Linked DNA regions of Homo sapiens: regions 2, 3, 4, 5 and 6 are each linked to region 1. The links are contacts of gene promoters, found by promoter capture Hi-C in blood cells and fetal thymus (Javierre and others, 2016). All regions are on one chromosome and are shown on one strand. The core of a region is centred on a gene start or on the middle of the fragment in contact, and the rest is flanking DNA. Distances in the headings are between cores, read along the strand shown.

Region 1 (3,731 bases), core at 143-2,642:
GAGGTATCCTAAGGTTTCCAGGAAGGGCAGCCATCCAGGGCTGAGCTGCAGGAGACAATGTTGACAGCGATGTCAGGGAACTTGAGTTACTGGGCAGCTGGACAGCTGCTCTCCCTGGTCCCCACCACCCAGGGCCACCACAGCCCAAGGCCCTGCCTACCTGCCAATACCTTAAGTTGCAGTCCCCAGGTCCCACTACATGGGACCACTGACGTCATCAACACATCAGAAGGAGACAGAAGCCCAGAGAAGGTCACAACCCAAGGTCACACTGGGACTTAGTGCAGCCCAGGATCTAGAACCCAGGCCTCCTGACTCCCTGTCCAGCGCTCACACACTCTAGAAGCAGCTGGTTGCAGCTTGAAACCTTGGGAACCATGGGGAAGAACACAACGGGTCTCTGGCTGCATACAGATAGGCACCGTGACATTTTTCCAGAGGTGAAGTTCAGACCCCTACACCTGCTTAGGTTGTCTAGAAAGTGTGGTCTGAAGGTGCTACCCTTCTTCCAAACACATATGGGGCTTTCTGGGAGGGAGCATAGCAATTCCAAGCGGACTCTCCCACCCTACTCTGCCCAAAAAAGGTTTATAGGAGTAGGGGGAGTCTGGACCCATGATGCCAGGACCCAGGAGACCAGGAAAGCAAGTAGTTAGTAGAGATCTGAGAAGTGTTCTTCGAAAAATCAAGCCAGCAAAAAAATAAAAAATAAAAGTAAAACATCAAATCAGGTTTTAGAATATGCATCCCTGGCCAGATGTGGGATGGGGCACCCGAAGTGGGCCCCAGCAGCTCCTGCCTGTCCCTGTCCCTGTCCCTGCCACCTCCTCCCTGCGTCGGGTGGGTCAGGTTTCAGGACCTCAGCGCTCAGATTTTGCAGCATAAATTTGCATCCAGGACAGACCAGAGCAGAGGCTGAGGTAGGAGTGGAGAGAGAAAGGGAGCAGGGCCTAGGAGGTCCTGAGGTGCAGGCTGGCCGCTGAAGGTTCAGGATCTTCCCCCACGCGGCAGGACATCCGCCAAGGTTCCCAGATCTGAGACGGCGCACCTCCTGCGTGTCCTTGACGGCAGGTGGACTTTCCAGACCCAGCTGGTGACGCCAGTGCCCCCTAAATCCCAGAGGTGGCCCCTTCCCTCGTGCCCTGGCCGCAGCCCCTGGGATCCCGCGGACCCCTGGCCTGGCGGTGCAGGAGTGGTAGCAGGTCCGCGCGCCTTCTTGCCGGCGGCCGGCGCTGCTCAGCGGCGCGGCTGGACTGAGCCGCTCCCGCTGCGCTCAGAGTCCGGGCCCCTGGCGCCATGCCAGGCCCGGCGGGCGTGCGCCCGGCGCGCAGCACTGCAGCGCTGGTCATATGAGCAGAAATGATGAGAAAAGCACTTTTTAATCTTTTCGCACTTGCTCTGCCCGCTCAAACAGTTGCAGGATGTCGATGACAGACTTGCTGAACGCTGAGGACATCAAGAAGGCGGTGGGAGCCTTTAGCGGTGAGCAAGCGCGCTCCCCTCCCCATCCCTCTCCCCTCGTCCACCGCCCGCGCCCCTGCACTCCGCCGGCCCCGCAGCCGGCGGATCCTCCCCAGCGCGCTTCTGCCCACACTTCCCGCTGGGCGCCGGCGAGGTCGGGGCGGGGGCGTCCTTGGCAGTTCCCAAACTCTGTCCGGGCGAGGCTTGGCGCGGGGAGCGGGCGGGGAAGAGGGCGCCCCGCCTAAGTTACAGAAACTTGAGGGTGCTGAAGGCCCGGTGGCTGGGAGGACTCAGGGTCCGGGACCAAGGGCGAAGACCAGGGTCGGAGGAGAGACCTCCAGGGTCCTTGTACGAGCTCTCTGGACGTCCTCTTTAAGGCACTTAGAGGGGACTGCAGGGGGCATCCTCCTCTCCAAGAGACCCCTTTCCTGGACCCTCATTCTGGACAGGACTTTTCCCGCCAGGCGGTAGCCTTTGTTGGCCCCCTGACTGTCCTAGTTCCTTTACTGAGATTCAGCAACGGACCTGCGGGCGAGGTGACCTTCTGGAGCCGGCGCACAGCTCTGCCTAAGCCCGCACGGGGCATCCTCAGTGCCTCAAACCTCCAGCCTCCTTAGGCGGGCAGGGGAGGGGAACTGGCAGTCTCACCTCTCCCAGCTGCCCGGGACTTCAGCGCTAAGCTGCCCGCCTTCCTCCTCCCCTGTCCTCCAGATGGGGAAATCAGGGAACTGTCTTGGAGAGGACAAGACATTTGCCCAAGGTCACCTAGCTGGGCAGAAGGGGTATTAGAACTGGGTTGCCCAGCCTAGTGTCGGAGGTGGACAGGGCAACTTTCCTTGTCTCTAGCCCTGTGCTGAGGGGAAGAGAACATGACTTCAACAGCCATTCCCTACACACACACACACACACACACACACACAAAATACATGATCTAACATTGTACCCTTCCCCAGGTGTTCTAAAACAGGACCCCAAGATACAGAAAATTGCAGGTAGAAAAGGACCCCCATTTCCTTTCTGCTTTGCACCCCCTCCCCTGGGCACAAGAACCTCTCTGGGAAGCCACCCTCCCAGGGTCCTGGGATAACCCTCTCCCTTCACCTCAAGCCCATGTGGGAAGAAACTTAACTGGGTGTTTCTCGGGAGCCTCCTAACACCCCCTTCCCACTGCCTCCGAAGTGGATTTCTGCGCAGAGCCAGGACTTCCGGGTTTGCCCCTCCTCCTCCCACTGTATGACCTTGAGGGAAACCTGTCCTTTCTATGTCAATTTTCTGGCAACAAAGTCTGTGGCCAAGAAAGAAGGTCAACCCTCCTCCCCCTAACCCCAGGACCATGTTCATGCCCCCTTCAATTCCCCAGCCCACTCCCAACCAGCTGGCACTCAAAAGTCTTCCTGGGCACAAGGTTCTCAGAAGAACAAAAGCCTTTGGTTCTTAGGTGCTGCTCCCATCATCAGCAATGGGTGCAGTGGAGGTGGGGCGTGGGGGCGGGCTTGAGAGCCAGGGAGGTCTGGGTTTGAGCACACCTCTTCCACTCCCAGCCTTGTGACCTTGGACAGGTTATCCTCCCTTGCCCGGGCTCCCTCAGCCCTCCAATGGAGGTGGGTACCTCTCATTCCCCATGACTGGCATGTGGGAATCCATCAACAAATGCCTTGATGCCCCCCATTCTCCCAGGCTTCCCTACCAGCCTTTCTGGTCCTTGTTTGACCCTGCTCTTCCCCCCACAGCTACCGACTCCTTCGACCACAAAAAGTTCTTCCAAATGGTCGGCCTGAAGAAAAAGAGTGCGGATGATGTGAAGAAGGTGTTTCACATGCTGGACAAGGACAAAAGTGGCTTCATCGAGGAGGATGAGCTGGGGTAAGCGGAGGCCTGCAGGGGCTGCCCAGCCCACGGCTGCACGAGAGGGAGTGGGGGCTGGGACTCTAGCTTCCAAGTGTCCATCAGACCTGCCTTTCACTCTGCCTGCTTCACAGAAAGTAACCGTGCGTGAAGGCAGGGCTCCGACCCAGGGCACCAGGGGAGAAGGCTTCCTGGTGCTATTGCTTCGGAAGAGTAAAACCCTCAGCTGAAAGTGCAACTAACTAGGTTAAATGATAGCCACTTAATATTGCTAATGGAATGTTGCTACTTAATAATTTAATGCAAATGAAGAGGCAGTTTTCTTGCTGCCTAACACCATAGGCAGGGCAGAAAGCATTCACTTGAGTATTTCATTGATTTTCATTTGTCTAAAAGACACTTTCCACCTTCCTGCAGCCCCCAGC
Region 2 (3,562 bases), core at 97-2,596, 150 kb before region 1:
TAAAATCCTGGAGATGAATCTAATAAGAACCTAGGAAAAAGCTTTTAAAATTTGCTGAAGTAAAATTCCCAAAATAAGTGGAAATCCATAATTATTGGATCAAAAGAGCCAGTATTACAAAGTTGTCAAAACTGTCAGATCTTCCCAAATTAAGAATTAAATTTAGCGCAATTCCAATAAAAATTCTAAGAGGACATTTTTATGACTTGATAAATTGATTCTAACAATAATTTGGAGGAATAATAGCGTAATCGTGTCCAATAAAATGTTGAAAAGGAAGACTAATGAGTGAGGATGCCAAATATCAAAACACTCCATAAGTTATAGCAACTGGAAAAGCATGACGTAGTCATAGGAATACAGAAGTGTTCAGAGGAACAAATAAAAATTGTCTTAGTTAGCTCTCACTACACATTGAACCTAAGACCCCATGATACCAAAAGCATCAGAACTTTCTTCTTGTGCGAAGAGGGAATCATTCTTTCTTTCTTCTTCACTGTTGTCTTTTATTATTATTATTATTATTTTTAAAGCAGACTATGGCCTGTAATCCCAGCTACTCGGGAGGCTGAGGCTGGAGAATTCCTTGAACCTGGAACCGGGGAGGCGGAGGTTGCAGTGAGCTGAGATCGCGCTACTGCACTCCAGCCTGGGTGACAGAACGAGATTCCGTCTCTAAATAAATAAATAAATAAATAAATAAATAAAACTAAGCAGACTATGTCAAGGTCTTCATGCCCCTTCCCAGAAAAGCTTGCCTTGACTTTAACAAGAAAGAATTGTATAATGTCTGCAAGTTATTTGCTCAAAGTTGCCTTCTCAGAATTATGCTGAAAAGCCCTCTGTGCTTGGAATTCCACTTGCCTGCTGTGTATGTATGTATGTATATACTTCACTTAAAAATCAGAGGAAAGTGGCCGAGCACAGTGGCTCACGCCTGTAATCCAAGCACTTTGGGAGGCCAAGGCAGGCGGATCACTTGAGGCCAGGAGTTCAAGACCAGCCTGGCCAACTTGGTGAAACCCTGTCTCTACTGAAAATATAAAAATTAGCTGGGCGTGGTGGCGCACACCTGTAGGCTGGAGATATAGTAGGCATAATCCCAGCTACTCAGGAGGCTGAGGCAGGAGAATCACTTGAACCCGGGAGGTGGAGGTTTCAGTAAGCCAAGATCACGCCACTACACTCCAGCCTGGGTGACAGTGAGGCTGCCTCAAAAAAAAAAAAAAAAATTAGAGAAAAGTGATGGCATCATCATCCCAAGCGGTAAAAGACAATTGTGATTCAGTGTCACGTGGGCCTGGAAACTCCTCCATTTCTCCATTGGGCTGTTGCAGAGGCTCTCTTGCACATGGGCAGATACTGCTGGTGTTGCCATCGTGCAAAGGAGACGTGGTGTAAAGCCAGACTCTAAGAATGTCCAGGAGATTGAAGAATCCCACCTTCAAGCAGAGGTCTGGAAGCAGTGCTGGGATGTCTTGTCTGGATTGTGCCTGGCAATGTAATGAACAGGAAATAAAGAGACACGTTCTTTGATGAATCTCAGGCTCTTGGGGTTGCACAACCATTTCACGGGGATCAAGATGAATCACTTTGTCCTCTGTTCCAGCGAGGGGAGGCCTTCCCAACCTCAGCCAGCCCTAGGGGCACACCAGGAGCAGCAGAGAATGGCTTCCTAGAGCCCAGGCAGCCCCGGGATCCCAGAGAATGATGTTCTGGGCCTGGGAGGCAGATTTGGATCATGCCTGAGAATTCACCAAGCTGAGCCGCCCCCATGTAAGGCCACTGGGAATAATCCCAATAGTTTCCACTTGTCAGCCTCCAGTCAGAGGGAGTCTGCCTCTCATGGTCAAAGTTGCCAGGCCTGCAGACAAAACACTGGGGCAAGGCAGGTCCCCAAAGCCATCGTGGAGCAGGATTGGTCCAGGATGAAGCTTTCACTGCCCATTCATGGGAGGAGAAAACCCTGGAAAATGAAGGCAAGGAAAATGGCCAGCTGCCTCTGTTTGAAAAGGGCCATCCTGCGCGCTGAGATCAGAATTCTTTGATTACTTCGTTTGTATTAAAATGTCCCTTTTTACCAGCCTGGCCAACATGGTGAAACCCTATCTCTACTAAAAATACAAAAATTAGCTGCGCGTGGTGGCACACACCTGTAATCCCAGCTACTCGGGATGCTGAGGCACGAGAATTGCTTGAACCTGGGAGGGGGAGGTTGTGGTGAGCTGAGATCATGCCACTGCACTCCAGCCTGGGCAACAGAGTGAGACTCTGTCTCAAAAAACAAAAAATAAAATAAAGTAAAATAAAATAAAATAAAATAAAATAAAATGTCTTTTTTTTAAAGTAGAAAATGATGTTGATAGTAAATGATATTTTCTTTTTTATTTAAAAATAAAGTTGTATTTTTCTTTCTGTTTTTAAAAATTTTTTACTCATCAATATAATTGAAAACTGTCTAGAAACCACATCTGTAGAGGTAGGGAAACAGAGAAGTAAGTTGTAATCAAGAACAACAAGGTCTCCAATCTGAGCTTTGTAGAACAAACTCCAGCATGGGGAAGAAGGCAGGAACTCAGTTGTCAGAGGCCACACAGGGTGGCCCAGCTCTCAGAAGCAAGGGTGGGCCCAGGGATGAGGACAGAGGTTCAAGGAAGTATAGGCACAACTGTGACCCTGTGAACCCCTCCTTCCCCGGGTCAGGGCTGGTCCTGGAGCTGAGGATGGAGCTGAGCCTCCAGCCGGGCAGTGGGGGAGGGTGTCTCAGTCACAGAAAGAGGAAGACCCAGGAACAGGAGGCAGACAGGTCACCACTGAGAACAAGAGAGGCCTGGACAGGCAGATTCTGCAAGTGTGGCTCAAGGCATGCAGCTGCCTCTATTCCCCATTTTTGGCTCAGATGACCCCTTCCCATAAGCAACCATGTGTGTGGGCATTTCTCTGGCCTTAGCAGAACCAGTGGCCTAGGGCAAGGCCTCTTACAAGAGACAAAGTCACTGGGAGTAGGGGATAGGGGGCTGGGGGGTGGCCAAAGAGTCACATTCTGGCACGTGGAGCTTGAGGTATCTCGTCTCTGGAACATACAAGGAAAGAGGTTCTATAGGTCATTGAATTCATAGCTCTTAGGTTTGGGGGAAGAACACTTACTTAGGAAAACCTTTAGGTAAAACCTGAGAGAGCCTGCAAACTTGAAAGCAGAGCACGTAGACCGGGATGAGAAGAGGAGCCCTGGAGACCCCTGAGGACACTGGTGCCTAAGGGCCTGGCTGAGGTGCTCGGGAGGCCAGGAGGGGAACAGAGAAGGGAAAGTCAGAGCGGGAAGGAGAAAGCAGAGTGTGGTGGGAGGCATAAAAATGGAGAGACTTTTAAGGCTCTAGGAGTGGCCATGGTGCTGGTGTTGTGTCTGAGAGGTCAAGGCAGGGGTGAATCCATCTGGTTATGTGATGTGGAGCTCCTCTGTGATGCTGGCGGAAGACCATTCTAAAGCCAGGTCATAATAAATAGAGAGAGGAGTGAATAGGAAATGGGAATATGAAGACAGCTTTTTGGAAAAGCTTGATTA
Region 3 (3,607 bases), core at 245-2,744, 210 kb before region 1:
CCCTGGCTCCTTAGGAAAACCGAGGCAGCCCCAGAGCTACAAGATTTAGCACTTGGTTATTTTATTTCCTCAAAAATAAAACAGAAAGGAGGCGGGGCCCCAGCTCAGCACCAGGTGGGCAGCTCGGAGTTGTGGCCTCCCTCCTCCAGGGCTCGCCTCCGCCTTTCCTCCCGCCCCTACTGGCAGCCAACAAGTCAACGGAATTCCTGGCCTTTGAGATGTCACCCCAAATGCCACCTGAGTTGAGTGAAGAAACACTCTCTTGGTGAAAGCAGAAGCGGAGCTACCAGGCCAGGCATTGCTGGTGGCCGGCATCACCTGAGCTCGCCTGTGTCCTGCCCAGCTTCAGTGGGTCTTCCCCCGGCCCTCTGAGATGACATCCTCGGGCCGGGCGCGCATGTACCACTCCACCCAGGAGCCATCGTAGATGGGCACGTCTGGCTTGCCGCAGAGGTAGGCCCCTAGTGCCACGTGGCAGGCTGTGACGCCAGAGCCACACGTGGCCACCAGTGGCTTAGACAGGTCCACTTTCTTCTCCTGGAACAGATGGCGGATCTCCTCAGGGCTCTTCTCCAGCCCCTCCTGGCTCAGGAAGTCTGTGAAGGGGATGTTCACGGTACCTGGGATGTGGCCAGGTTCAATGCCTACAGCAGGGGAGCAGGGAGGAGGGGACAAATAGAAGGATGCTATGAATGGTACCTCGTATTTGTGGTGCTCGAGATATTGAGAGCATCCCATGCAAGCATGGTGCTAAATCCTTTATATCCACCATCTCATTTAATTCTCACAACCATAAAACCTGAGCACTGTTTAGAGGAGCCCCCATTTTATACACGGTGATGCTGAGGTTAAGTACCACCTGAGGCTAACACATCTAGCAAATTGCTGACTGAACTTTGAACCTAAGAACTGGGCCCCAAGGTTTCCTGACTATGCACCCTAGGGACAGCAAAGCAATAAACAAGACCCCTGCCTAGCTAGAACGTGCAGTACCTGCAGGCAAGGAGCTTTAATCTGGCAGGGCAGACAGGCAACTGAATAATTACAAGCATAATGGGTGTTCCAAAAGTGCCCTACTGGGTGGCCTGGGGCATGTAAAAAAAAAATAACGCCAGTAACAGCAATAGCTGATATTATTATTACTGAGACAGGGTCTCATTCTGTTGCCCAGGCTGAAGTGCAGTGGCATGATCAAGGCTCACTGCAGCCTCAACCTCCTGGGCTCAAGCAATCCTCCTGCCTCAGCTTCCCCCCGAGGGGCTGGGACTACTACAGGCACATGCCACCATGCTCAGCTAATTTCCTTTTTTTGTTCTTTTTTTTTTTTTTGAGATGGAGTTTTGCTCTTGTTGCCCAGGCTGGAGTGCAGTGGCATGATCTTGGCTTACTGCAACCTCCACCTCCTGGGTTCAAGTGATTCTCCTGCCTCAGCCTCCTGAGTAGCTGGGATTACAGGCACCCATCACACCTGGCTAATTTTTGTATTTTTAGTAGAGACGGGGTTTCACCATATTGGCCAGGGTGGTCTCGAACTCCTGACCTCAGATGATCCACCTGCCTTGGCCTCCCAAAGTGCTGGGATTACAGGTGTGAACCACCACGCCTGGCCTAATTTGGTTTTTATAGACATGGGGTCTCAGTATGTGGCTCAGGATGGTCTTGAATTCCTGGCCTCAAGTAATCCTTCTGCCTCAGCTTCCCAAAGTGCTGGGAATATAGGAGTAAGCCACCTTGCCTGGCCAATAGCTGATGTTATTGAATGCTTACTTTCTGCCAGGCACTGTTTGGAGACGGTCAGCTATACTTTCTCCTTGAATCCACCCCAAAATTCTCTGGGAAAGAAATTATTATCCTCTCTTTTGTAAAGATGAAGAGAATGAAGTACAAAGACTAGCTTGTGCAAGCTAGCAGAGGGCAGGGAGGAGTAAACCCAGGCAAGTCTATGCTTCCCACCTTCACGCCACACTGGCTGGGGGCTCAGTGGGTGGAGGAAGTTTCTCTGAGAATGCCCCGAAGGATGAGTAGGATTCAGTCACATAAAGGGGTCTGGGTGGATGGAGGCCTAGAGCATCCCAGGCAGAGGGAATCTGAAAGGCGAGGGAACCACCTGTTGCCCGGAGGGGTTAAAGGTCATTGTCACGAAAGCCCAGACAGTGAGAAGCCAGAGGCCCAAAGGGGAAGCTGAAGGGGATGGGAACGCCTTAGCAGGCCTGGAGTAAGACTTGGGGGCTTTGACCTGACTGCAGGGGGAACTCAGGCTTCTGCGTTTACTTTTTTACTGTTACTTTTAATTTTTTTTATTGAGAAGGGGCTTGCCATCATGTCCAGGATGGTCTTGAACTCCTGGGCTCAAGGGATCCTCCCACCTCAGCCTTCCAAAGTGTGAGGATTATAGGTAGGAGTTACCTTGCCCAACCTAGATTTCCATTTTTAAACGATCATTTTGATTGTAGCAGAAAGAATGGGATGGGAAAGGCCCACACCTCTGCAGACTCCCAGGGTGTTTTTTGTTTTCACTGCCCCACCTTGAGGCAGGGGTTACTAACATTCCCATTTTCATGCAGGACTGGGATTTGCAACAAAATAAACCTTCACAACTAACGCTTGGGCTGGGCACGGTGGCTCACGCCTGTAATCCCAGCACTTTGGGAGGCCGAGGGGGGCAGATTACCTGAGGTTGGGAGTTCGAGACCAGCCTGACCAACATGGAGAAACCCCGTCTCTACTAATAATACAAACATTAGCCGGGCGTGGTGGCACATGCCTGTAATCCCAGCTACTCGGGAGGCTAAGGCAGGAGAATCACTTGAACCCGGGAGGCGGAGGTTGTGGTGAGCCGAGATTGCGCCACTGTACTCCAGCTGGGAAACAAGAGCAAAACTCCGTCTCAAAACAATAACAACAACAACAACAGAAACAAACACAAACAAAAAACCCCCCAAAAACGAATGATTCAAATCTGAGCCATTCAGACTCTTGTCCAGCTTCTGCCTTGGTTTCCCTCCGCAGTGGAGTGACACCCCCACAGGAGCTGCTGACCCATGTATCGGTATCTATTCTCAGACCCTGGCATAGAGACAGCACTCCCGAGTCTGTGGAGAGGCTGGAATGGGTCATGCATCCCACCTAACAGACACAGTTACCGGGCTTGGTCAGATATCACATAGAGACCAGCCCAGAGCAAGGAGGAGGAACAAACTCTCAACCCAGGGTGGTGACTGTAAAGGGAGGGCCATCCCTACACCTTGAATCCCACCAAGCAAAGCATGTTTCCCCTGCCTGCTGGACTGGTGTGGCACATCACAGGAGCACTTGGCCAGGCCTCAGGCTGTGGAGTGGGAATGATGACGACAGTGACATTCATCACTGATCCAGCTGCAGTGAGCTTAGTTTGTTTTGACAACAAGCCTGCTAGGCGTGTATCACCTCCCATTCTATAGATGAGCTAGTGCGACTGAATAAGTGTCAGGCACAAGTGTGCAGCACACTTGTGCATGAAAACCCGGAGCTGAGTGCTTTACACACTTGCTCTCCTTGCCCCTATCATGTCTTTATGCTCTGTGTTACTGCTCCCATTCTACATAGGCAGAAGCTGCAGTTCAGAGAC
Region 4 (3,442 bases), core at 932-3,431, 170 kb before region 1:
TGGAAGAGGTACGAGTCATCCCTGGGGTCTGGGCAACTCCAGAGACTGCCAGATGATCTAATCTGTGCTGGCTCTTCTCCTGCTCGCTGTAGGGCGGTGGCACCAGAAAAATGCTATGAACCTGAACTTGCAGAAAGCACTGGAAGAGAAATATGGAGAAAACAGCAAATCCAAGAGCTCCAAGTACTAGTTTTGACACAGTAGAGGTGTCTTCTACTCAAATAAAGTGCTAACAATAAGGAAAGGCTCAGGTCCGAGTCCTCCTGTGCTTGGTGCCTTTCTTCACACTGGAGTAGAGGCCGATATGTGGTGTTGGAGAGACCAACTGGGGGAAGATAGAAGCCCTGGGGTCCCAAACTATTCCCTAGTCCTCCCTCCTGCACACACATGCACACACACGTACCTTCATCCATTATCCCAGGAAAGGACATGAGAGCTGGGCATGACTCTGTCTCAAGCCCAGGGTGCCTGGCTTCTCCCACATGCCCTATGTGAGGGGGTCCTATAGTGGACACTGCTGGATCTTACCCTACATGCTCTTCCTAGAAGATGCCAATTATTCCCAGACATCCATTCCTCCCCCACGAGACACGGACTTCAGAGGAGTTGGCCACACACATTTCCTCCAATCTAGTGGCGGGTTTGATTGGTCTCATGGTGATTCTTTACCCCTACCCCAACCCCACCTCTTGCACGTGATTGGTTCAGTCATGCACATATGACTCAATTTGGGCCAATAAGATGCAAGGAAACGTGTGGATGCGTGCAGCCTTCTGGGAAATTCTTTTCTCAGCTGGGAATGCTGAGAGAGCATCCATCTTTCCTGATGTAATGAATGAGGAACCATGCAGCCCAGACCACTCCTGCCAGACACCTATGACCAGAGGAATTGCAGACCATGCAGCACATTCTGGGTCCTCCATGGCCTCGCAGAGCTGCTCCATCAACTTGGCCAGAAGCTGCCGGCCTCTGGACTTCCTGTAATGTGAGCCTGAGGTCTCCTCATTGTTTAAGGAGCCAAAAGCATCCTCAGACCATAGGGGCTTGGAGCCCCAGGGAAGAGTCCCCAGATAATGGGTTCTAGGTCAGACGGTTCTGTTTTCCAGTTGATCCTGAAGCTTTTCACCTGATGAGTCTCTAAGCCCGCAGCACACTCCACCCCGAGATCACTGACTTGCACCCTCAGACCGTGCTCTACCCATGGGTTATTTATTATTTGCTGTGTTCCAAAACACCACCAAAACTTGTGGGCTTAAAATGACATGATCCTTAATTTGCTCATGATTGAGCAATTTAGGCAGGGCTCAGGAGGTACGGCTCATTTCTGTTCTGTATAGCATCTGCTGTGAAGACGCCTGCTCCTCTCCCATGCCTAGTGCCTCAGCTGGGATGAGAACCACAGTGGGGGGCTGGCTGATCATCACTCTCTCTCATGGGACCTCTCTTCGTGGCTCACTTGAGCTTCTTTTGGAATGGGGACTAGGTTTCAAGAAGGAGCCGTCTCAGGGGACAAGATTCAATGTGCAATGGTTTATCAAGCCTTGCACTGGCTTGTCAATGTCCCTGTGGCCAAAGAGACATATGGCCAAGCCCAGACTTTGTGAGAGGGGACTACATAAGAGTATTACTGTATGCAGGAATGGTTCATTGGCGACCTCAAAATAATAGTTTGTCCTGGTGGTCATCTTGCTTTTGAAAGATCAAAAGCGAGAGGAAGAATCAAAATCACTACTGGGAGAAGAGGAGACATGTTCCTACTTCTCCCTCAACTGCCCCTCCTCCCACAAAAGGGAATGACTTACTTACTTTTTTTTCTTTGTCTTTTCTTTTTTTTTTTTTTTTGAGATGGAATCTGGCTCTGTTGTCCAGGCTGGAGTGCAGTGGTGTGATCTTGGCTCACTGTAACCTCCGCCTTCTGGGTTCAAGCTATTCTCCTGCCTCAGCCTCCCGAGTAGCTGGGATTACAGGAGTGCACCACCATGACCAGCTAATTTTTGTATTTTTAGTAGAGATGAGGTTTCACCATGTTGGCCAGGCTGGTCTTGAACTCCTGAGCTCAAGTGATCCACCCGCCTCAGCCTCCCAAAGTGCTGGGATTATAGGCGTGAGCCACCACGCCCGTCCAGGAATGACTTAAAGGTAGGGTTGGATCAGAATGCAATACAGGGAAGTGAATCTGACTTGATTTAATATTCATCAAATATCTAATTATGTGCAAAGTGCAGAGTTCAGTTCAACTTCTTTACTGGGTACCTAGTTTCTGCAAGACACTGTTCTGGGCACTGGAAACACTAGACTTTGTCTTCATCAACTACTATGTGCCCATCACATGTGACACCTGAAAAAATGAGCCACCCAAAGTCTTGTGGCTAAAGCAGACTCTGTGCTGTTCTGACATAGAAATGATAACGTGGCAAATGATTATGTGCCACATGGTTTATATACGGAACTGTATTTCATCCTTACACCAGTCCTCAGAGCTGTTATCACTCCCTTTATGAAGATGAGGAAACTGAGGCTTGGAGAGGCCAAGGAAATTGTACAAGATTATATGCATAGGAAGCTGGGGGTGCAAACCCAGGAATTTCTATCCAAAGTCACTTCTACTCTACCAGGCAATCGTACTGCAGTGTACGTAGTATGACAGTGCAGTGCCTAACAGGGCTGAGTGTTTGTGGTGCCTGTTGACGGAGCACCACAAACACTCAGCCCTATTAGGCACGGTGAAAACAGCAATATGAATGCAATACAATATGCAATATGCATATGCAATATGCAATACAGTCCAGACCTCAGAGCTTTGCAGTCTGCAGGAGATTGATGTGGAAGAAGCTGCCTTAGAGACTTATCTACCCATGATATGCCCCTGCCCAGCCCTGACCAATGAGCTGGACGTGCAAAAATAAATAAGACATGGCGCCTGTCCTCAAAGAGTTCAGAGTCTGGCGAGAAGACAAATACATCAGTACATAGATGCTCAGAAGTCTTACACATGCGGTGAGACGTTCACGTGGGGCCAGCAAAAGCACAAAGGAGAACGTGGTTAGCTCTGCCTGGGATGGGGTAGGGTGCCGGTCATATGGTAGGCTTCATAGAGGAGGTGGCTCTTGAGATGAATCATGGAACATGAATAAGGATGTTCAGGTGGACTGGAAGAGGCACAGCATTCCAGACAGAGGGCATGGTATGCATGAAACTGCAGCATGATGTATTTGGCAAGCTGCAGGTAGCTTGTTAAGCTTGGAAGGTAGGGCTCCAAGGAGGAACACAGAGGTGAGGTAGGAAACAGAGAGTCTATGCCTGGACCGGGCTGTCCTCTGTGAGGGCCTTACATTTGAGACTCAGACCTTCCTTCTAGGAATTTACAGTCTGGCTGGAACATAAAGAGTTAATGACTAAAGAAGCCACACGGAAGAGTTGAAAAGATGCTCATTATCCCCAA
Region 5 (3,517 bases), core at 719-3,218, 190 kb before region 1:
TGGGAAGGTGAGCAGAGTCTTGAAGGAGGTGAAGAGGCAAGCCATGTAGGCATGTGGGGGAAGGAAGTTGCAGGAGAGGAGAGGGAACAGCCCGTGCAAAGGCCCCGAGGAGGGACTGTGCTTGGTGTGCCCAAAAAACAGCAGAGCCTGGCATGGCAGGGACCCAGGGAGCACTTGGGAAAGTGAGAGGAGCAGAGGTCAGAGAAAAATGGTGGACAGGTTGGGTAGGGCCTTGCAGATAAATGGGAGGATGTCAGCTTTTACTGTGGTTGAGCTGGAAGGTTTTGTTTAGAGGGGTGACATATGATCTAATATAGGTCTTAACAGGATTGCTGGGCTGTTGAGTGAGAAGACTGTCAGAGGATATGGTGGACTCCAGGGTGGTCCCCATATTATCTGCCCCCTCGTGTTCATGCCCCGTGTGACCCTCTCCCTTTCACTGCGGGTGGGACCCGTGACTTGCTTTTAACCAACAGCCTACGGCAAAGGTGATGGATGCCACTTCTGTGACTATGGTACACAACATTGTAATGCCCCATCTTGCAAGGGGACTCCCTCTTTGCTGGCTTTGATGAAGTCAGTGTCATGTTGGTGTTGGGGGGCCCACATAGCAAGGAACTGAGGATGGCCTCTGGCTGACAGCCAGAGAGAGCCTGAGACCCTCAGTCTAACAGACTGCAAGGAACTGAATCCTCCCACAGCCACATGAGCTTGGAAGCATATTCTTCCCTAGTGGAACCTCAGATGAGACTGCAGCCCTGGCCAATACTTGGATTGTAGCCTGCTAAGACCCCAATGCAGAGAACTCAGCTAAGCCATGAGTAGACACCCGACCCAAAGAAACTGTGAGATAACAGTTGTATGTTAAGCTTCGAAGTTTATGGCAAGATTGTCGTGCAGCAATAGATAATACTTAGGCAAGAGATGAGGGTGGCTTGGACCAGGGAGTAGGGGGAGTTGTGGAGGTGGACGAAGGCATCCAAATCTAGTGTACTTCGAAGGACTTGCTGATGGGTTGCTTGCGGAAGTAGCTTAGAGTTTTGTGATGTCTCTCTCTGTGCAAGGCAATGTGCTACATTTTGCAAAAAATTGTTTTATTCGCCCATCACCCTTATCCTTAGTGTTGGGTGATATCTGTTTCACATGTGAAGGAAGTTCAGCTAAAGGACTTGGCCAGTCTCTTATCTAATAAGTGACAGGCCCAGATTCTGGGGACTCCAAGTTTAACCACAGCACTCTCTGTTTCCTGGGGAAATCCTGAAAGGCTGGGCTTGCAGGAGGCGTTCACTATACCCACTCTTTGTCCAGGCTGAGCAACAGCCAGACAGGAATGGGCCAGTGCTGGCACCAATGACTTCTGCCTCCTTCTTCTCTGCAGAAAAGAAGTCACTTAATTTTGTTGATCTCCTTCTGTAGCCCTTGTTGTTTAGGAATAGGAGAGAGGACCCTTCCTTTAGTTTTACTCCCAGGTCCCTGATCCCTGGGTGTCCAAATCAGACAGCTCCAGATGCATCTTTCTCCTTCCCCATTGACCTCGACCTACATTTATGCTGTTATACACATCCATGCCTTTAATATTCTCATCCCTTCAAAACTGTTAAGTTCCTAGGCATCCTTCAAGATCCAACTCAAATGGCTCTTTCATAAGTCCTTCCTCCTTTTTCCTACACAGAGCTAGTTCTTCTCCCTACTTAGTGCTTTGAGCTCCCAAGAACATCTTTTGCACTTGGTAGCATCTGAGCCCCCTGTGCCTGGCACACCTGGCATGTAGTGGGGGCTCAACTGACATTCTAGAGTGGATGAGAGAGTGAACAATAATTGAAGCCCCTCCTGCCTTTTCCTGGCCTCAATCCTGGCTTTCTCCTGGCCTCTTTTCCCTACGGGTGGGCCTATCAGCCCTCTGAGGTAACAGAGCCCTGTGTATAGTGATCACCATGGCAACTCCAATGAACATCTTGGGGAGGGCCACTTCCCAGCAACCATCCATTGGTCTTCACCAGTAGTTCTGCAGTGGGGATCTGCACTTCTGGGCTTCAGCACACATCAGTGTGGTTCACGTGTTTCCTGCTGTTATGAAAGAGATTGGAGAGGTGAGGCAGAGACTTATGAAGGGCCAGGGTTCTTCCAGGACATGGGGTTTCATCTTCCTTCTCCCCATTCAGAGTTGCTTGTGAGTGAAGACTGCCTAGACTGGACTTACCTTCCCGCCCTCTTTGACCAAAGTCTCTTGGGATCTCTCTCTCTGGGTCAGAAACTGGAAGTGAGTCCACACTTCCATTGTAGCCCGTCCAGACTGCTGTGGACTGGCAGTGCACTGGGACGTACAGAGCTGCCGTGGGCACGTCAGGTTGGTGGCTGGGGATAGGAGGAGAAAGAAAACTTGGAGCTAACTTGAACTTCACCTAGCTTGAAGATGTGCAATTTAATTTTAGCCCCACCTGGTGAAGTCCTGTGTCTTTTCGGAGCCTCATTTTCTCCATCTGTGAAAGAAGATAAATTAGTAGTGTCTCCGAACACCTTACTGGGTATTTGTGAAGACCAGACTAATTTACCAGATGTGAGAATGCTTGACATGGACTTGTGTTAGTTATCTCTTGCTGCACAACAAATCACCCCAAAACTTAGTGGGCTTAAGACAACATTTACTATCTCACAGTTTCTGTGAGTTGGGAATACCGGTGGAGTGTTGGTGATTTTTCTGTCCCAGGGTCTCTCACAGGCTGCAATCAAGGTGTTGCTTGGGTCTCTAGTCTCATCTCAAAGCTCGACCAGAGAAGGAACCCATTCACATGGCAGGATCCAGCTACTCTGGAGCTGTTGGCAAGAGGCCACTCTGAGTTCCTTGCCCTGTGGACCTCTCCATAGGGCATCTCACAACAGGGAAACTGGCTTCTGTCAGAGAAGATGAGCTGAGGAGAGCTGCAGAGAGTGTGTGAAAAAGACAGAAGTTGTAGTCTCTTATAAGTTCATCATGGATGCAACATCCCTCATTTTTGCCACATTCCATTCATCACTATGTCCAGTCCACACCAAAGGGGAGAGAATTATACCAAGAAACAGGGATCATTGGGAGCCATGTCAACTGCCTGCCACTCTCTGCCCTCTGGCCCCCAATAATGTACATCCCTTCCACATGCAAAATATAGTCATCCCCTCCTAAGATCTTTAAAATTCTCATCCTATTAAAGCATCAGTTTAAAAGCTAGAATCTGGTCATATAAATCAGCTCCAGGTGTGGCTGAGGCTCCTCCAGTGTCGTTCCTTAAGTACAGCTTCTCAGATTCAATTCTTCCCCATCATAGATCTGTGAAACTAAGTAATTTGCCCTGAACACACCTAACATACAGTGATGTGATAGGCATAGGATAAGAACTAGTGACATTCCTATTCAAAATTGAGGAAAATGGAGACATGGAGTCAATGTTCCATAGCGGTTTTGAAATCCAGCCACACAAATGTTGGACATTCCTTGATTAGGTTTCAAGGCCTGGGGATAATTCTCCATGGCTCTCAGCTC
Region 6 (3,523 bases), core at 915-3,414, 240 kb before region 1:
TGCATGACTAGGGATAAAGTCCCTCGGGATAAGGATCTCCCGATGGGTAAACTGCATCTGGACTGGGAGGAACCACCGTTCACCATAAAGACCTCATGGGAAGGCACTGCTTTGGGCTCCCCTGCATGTTGCAATGCTGGCCACTGGGCATGTCCCCTGCGGAGACCCTGAAAACTGTGTCAGGAACTGCTATGATCGCATGATGCTGACTCTGAGTTCTAAGAGGTACTGACTCAATGTGGACTCCACTCACCTATGTGGATCTGGTCTCCTTGCACCTGAGCTGTCCTTCGGGGGCCACAGACTCACTCATGCCACCAGATAGATCACCACCCAGTTGCTGTGAGGACTCCCACCAACAAGGACACCCCGTGCTGTCCTATGGCCACTGGGGCTCCTATCCTCTCTCTCGGTCAACCTGCCACCAAGTGTGGTCTCTCCTAACCTTGTTTAATTTGATTTCAGAAGAACCCTGGGGTTGGGGGAGACTGTGGTGGGGAACCCAAGGCTGGGGCTGCAGGAAGGGAGGGGCCTGCTTGGTCAGAGGCTAGGAGGTCCCAGGGTTGTCCTGGTGGCACGCCCCTGTCCCCAGCGCACCTGCTCGAAGCGCCAGCCATCAGACATGGTGGAGACCATTTGCGTGAGCTCCTCCTCCTGGCACTGCAGCACGCGGTACACGTGCTTGGGTGGGACCTGTGGGCAGAAGGGTCACATAGAGGGCACCTGTGGGAGCACCAGGCACCCCAGGAGGGGCATGAGCACCTGCTGCCACCACCCCCGCAACATACCCAAAGAAGAAGAGAGGGAGAGAAAGAAGAGGTGGTTGGGGGGAGGCAGCCATGCTCTGAGCACCTGCTCCTCACCAGGCATTTACCAGGCACCATCTCACTTAATCCTTCCAAGAATCCTAGGCATTACGGGACTTTCCATTGAGGCTCAGAGAGGTCCAGTTACTTGCCCAAGGTCACCCAGCTCAAGGGTGAAGGAGACAGAACCGGAACACGGGTAATTCAAGAAAGAACATGGGTGGGGCTTAGGGAACATTCTGGGTCACCCTCAAGGAGTCAGGCCCTCAAGGAGACACGGAGCCTCCCCTCTTTAATCCCCTGGGCCTGAGAAATGGTTCCTCACTACCTGTCCCCCAACCCTCACACATCCCCCAGAGTAGGCGGAAAATCTCTTTCCCTCCTCCTGCAGACTGGCCAGGGAGGCCCAGGCTCCAAGGTCACAAACGCCAGCCCCAACAGCCTGTGCCGAGCCCACCAGGCGACCATCTGATGCCACAAAAGGCACAATTTGCTAATCCTGCATTTTCCTCTGCAGGGCACCCTGTACCTCCACACTGACCCCCTTCTGCCTATGAGGAAGGGATGGGTGTGCCATTCCCACCCCTCTCTATCCCATAAGAGAAAATCAAGGTCCGGAGAGGGCGAGCCTGGCCCAACACACAGCAAATGGGGCTGAGACAGGGACTGAACCCCAGTGTCCGTCTCCGAGTCTGGGGCTGTGCTGGGCAGCCTGTCAGCCCAACCATGCCTCTCCTTACAGGCCAGCTCGGCCTCCCCATGACAAACACTGGTCCTGTCTCTCCCAACCTCCTCTGCTTCCCGCCCCGTCTCTCAGCCTCTCTCTCCCCACTGGCCCCTGCCCTGGCCGTGTGTGCTGCCCCTGCTCCCGACCTGGGTGACCGTGTAGTCCTTCTCTTCCATCCGGTCTTTGATGATGCGGATCAGCGGGCCGATGTTGTAGAACTCGGCTTCCTCCAGGACCCCTGGCACAGACAGAACAGATCCCAGGTCACTCCTTCTGCCTCCATGCCCCATTCTCCTCTTGTTCCCTCCACCCCGAAACCCACCTCTCGCTCTGATCACCCGCCCTGAGGGTGAGCTGAGTGTCTGTGAGTTCAGGGGTCAAGTAAGAGGGAGCATTTCTTTCCTTGGATCCCACACTTCCTGTGGAAGGGGCTGAGGGGCTGCCACACAGCTCTGCTGTGCTGAGTGCGGTGACCCAGGGGTACCTGCCAGGCCACCGTCTGGGGCAGCTTTAGGGCTATCAAGAGACAGCAGGGTCATTGGGACTGATCCCCAGAATGTCACCATGAGCAGGGCCTTGCCTGACCCCTGATTATGTGCTCCTATTTATTAAGCACATTCTAAGTGCCAGGTGCATTACATTTTTGAATTCTCAGAACTAGAAGGAGGTACTTTCATCATCTGCATTGAACAACTGGGAAAACTGAGGCTCCCAAAGAGAAGCAGCTTGTCCAAGGTCACACAGCTGGTAAGTGCCAGAGGGAACTCAAGCGCTGCAGACTCCAGAGCCCATGTCTCCCCACTGTAAGCACATACCCTTGTGTCCATGCATTCCCCCAACTGCCTCACCTTACAGTTTGCAACACCCTGCACGAGCTCATCACAAGTCCAGGGATATGAGGAGAGCAGGCATTACTGTCCCCATCTTACAGTTAAGTTAATCTGGGAGATGAAGAAGTCAGCCCACCAGTGAAGCGATGAGCTTGCAGCTGTTTCGACTCCCCTAGGCTCCCAGAAGGCAGGGGACCTTTGGGCCCTTTCCTTGACTGGCCTCTGGGCTCCCTGGGGACAGAGCTCATTATGAGCAGAATGTGTGTGTTCCCCAAAAATCCACCTGCTGAAAACTGTGATGGGATTAGGAGGGGAGGTAATGAGATCATGGGGGTAGAGTCCCCAGGGTAGGATCAGTCTTCTTATAAGAAAGGCTAATTGGATGTGAGGGCGATCTGGCGGGGACATCTGTCACTCCACTGATCACCAGGGTTGATTTAGCTGATCTGGCTGGCTAGATGTGTGTCCCCTTCCTCCCTCACTGCTCCAGGTGTGTCCCTCCCGAAGCTGTGAGCTCCATCGAAGGGGGCGACCACCCCCGATAGAGGAGGACCGGACTTTGGTCAAGGGTATGTGAGTAGCTGCGCTCCCCTGCTAGAACCTCCAAACAAGCTCTCGAGAAGGGGCGGGCGAGGGCTAGCTCCCTCTCTTTCTGCCATGTGAGGACACAACGAGAAGTCAGCAGTCTGCAATCCGGAAGAAAGTCCTCACCAGAACCTGCCACAGTGCCCCGATCTCGGGTTTCTAGCCTCTAGGACCAAGAGAAATAAATTTCTGATTTTCATAAGCCACCCAATCTATGTTACTTCATGATTGCAGCCTGAAATGGCTAAGATGGGGCTCACATTTCTGATCTGCCCTCTGTCCCCGGTGCCCACACAGGACCAAACACAGAGCAGGAGGTCAGGGAGTGCAGCTGCCTGATTACGAGAATTATCCCCAGTGCCCTGGGCGGAGCCCTGCAGGTGACAGACAGCTAGCACTGCATCCCACATCCTCCGGCCAGGAACTGAGCTCCATGCTGCACTATTAACTCCTTTTATCCTCATGACAGCTCGGTGAGGTGGGTGCTATGGTCCCCCATTTCACAGATGGGGGCATGCAGACACAGAGGGGTTAGGTCACTTTCTCAGTGTCACACAGCTAGTAAGTCTCCTCTC

The links. The method cuts DNA at HindIII sites, captures the fragments that hold promoters and counts their contacts. A CHiCAGO score of 5 or more calls a contact.
Region 2: a fragment that was not itself captured here is called in contact with the fragment with the promoter of PVALB in region 1 in 3 of 17 cell types (megakaryocytes, endothelial precursors and monocytes); the score reaches 6.1 in megakaryocytes.
Region 3: a fragment that was not itself captured here is called in contact with the fragment with the promoter of PVALB in region 1 in 2 of 17 cell types (neutrophils and erythroblasts); the score reaches 9.2 in neutrophils.
Region 4: a contact is called between a fragment that was not itself captured here and the fragment with the promoter of PVALB in region 1, in 6 of 17 cell types (neutrophils, monocytes, M0 macrophages and 3 more). The highest score is 9.3, in neutrophils.
Region 5: a contact is called between the fragment with the promoter of CIMIP4 here and the fragment with the promoter of PVALB in region 1, in 2 of 17 cell types (M1 macrophages and neutrophils). The highest score is 5.1, in M1 macrophages.
Region 6: a contact is called between a fragment that was not itself captured here and the fragment with the promoter of PVALB in region 1, in 3 of 17 cell types (neutrophils, erythroblasts and megakaryocytes). The highest score is 5.9, in neutrophils.

Annotation. Positions count from the first base shown.
Region 1 is chr22:36,814,696-36,818,426 of GRCh38, reverse strand. It overlaps PVALB (parvalbumin), which reads left to right and starts at 1,392. Exons shown (of 4, transcript NM_001315532.2): 1 at 1,392-1,482; 2 at 3,192-3,324. The coding sequence starts at 1,422. The HindIII fragment of the contact is 33,107 bases long and covers 1-3,731 here.
Region 2 is chr22:36,965,099-36,968,660 of GRCh38, reverse strand. LL22NC01-81G9.3 (a long non-coding RNA gene) reads right to left here and starts at 3,413. Exons shown (of 4, transcript NR_038954.1): 1 at 3,148-3,413; 2 at 2,154-2,271; 3 at 1,073-1,493; 4 at 489-675. The HindIII fragment of the contact is 1,181 bases long and covers 756-1,936 here.
Region 3 is chr22:37,026,253-37,029,859 of GRCh38, reverse strand. MPST (mercaptopyruvate sulfurtransferase) reads right to left here. Exons shown (of 3, transcript NM_021126.8): 3 at 45-644. The coding sequence ends at 346. Among named protein-coding and RNA genes, the nearest start is that of MPST, 8.3 kb to the right of the region's middle. The HindIII fragment of the contact is 5,853 bases long and covers 1-3,607 here.
Region 4 is chr22:36,987,927-36,991,368 of GRCh38, reverse strand. It overlaps CIMIP4 (ciliary microtubule inner protein 4), which reads left to right. Exons shown (of 6, transcript NM_001163857.2): 6 at 93-244. The coding sequence ends at 190. Among named protein-coding and RNA genes, the nearest start is that of CIMIP4, 18 kb to the left of the region's middle. The HindIII fragment of the contact is 2,121 bases long and covers 1,121-3,241 here.
Region 5 is chr22:37,006,302-37,009,818 of GRCh38, reverse strand. It overlaps CIMIP4 (ciliary microtubule inner protein 4), which reads left to right and starts at 1,968. Exons shown (of 6, transcript NM_001163857.2): 1 at 1,968-2,090. The HindIII fragment of the contact is 2,868 bases long and covers 872-3,517 here.
Region 6 is chr22:37,054,568-37,058,090 of GRCh38, reverse strand. KCTD17 (potassium channel tetramerization domain containing 17) reads right to left here. Exons shown (of 9, transcript NM_001282684.2): 3 at 1,680-1,771; 4 at 598-693. It also overlaps the pseudogene RN7SKP214. Among named protein-coding and RNA genes, the nearest start is that of KCTD17, 4.6 kb to the right of the region's middle. The HindIII fragment of the contact is 5,049 bases long and covers 1-3,523 here.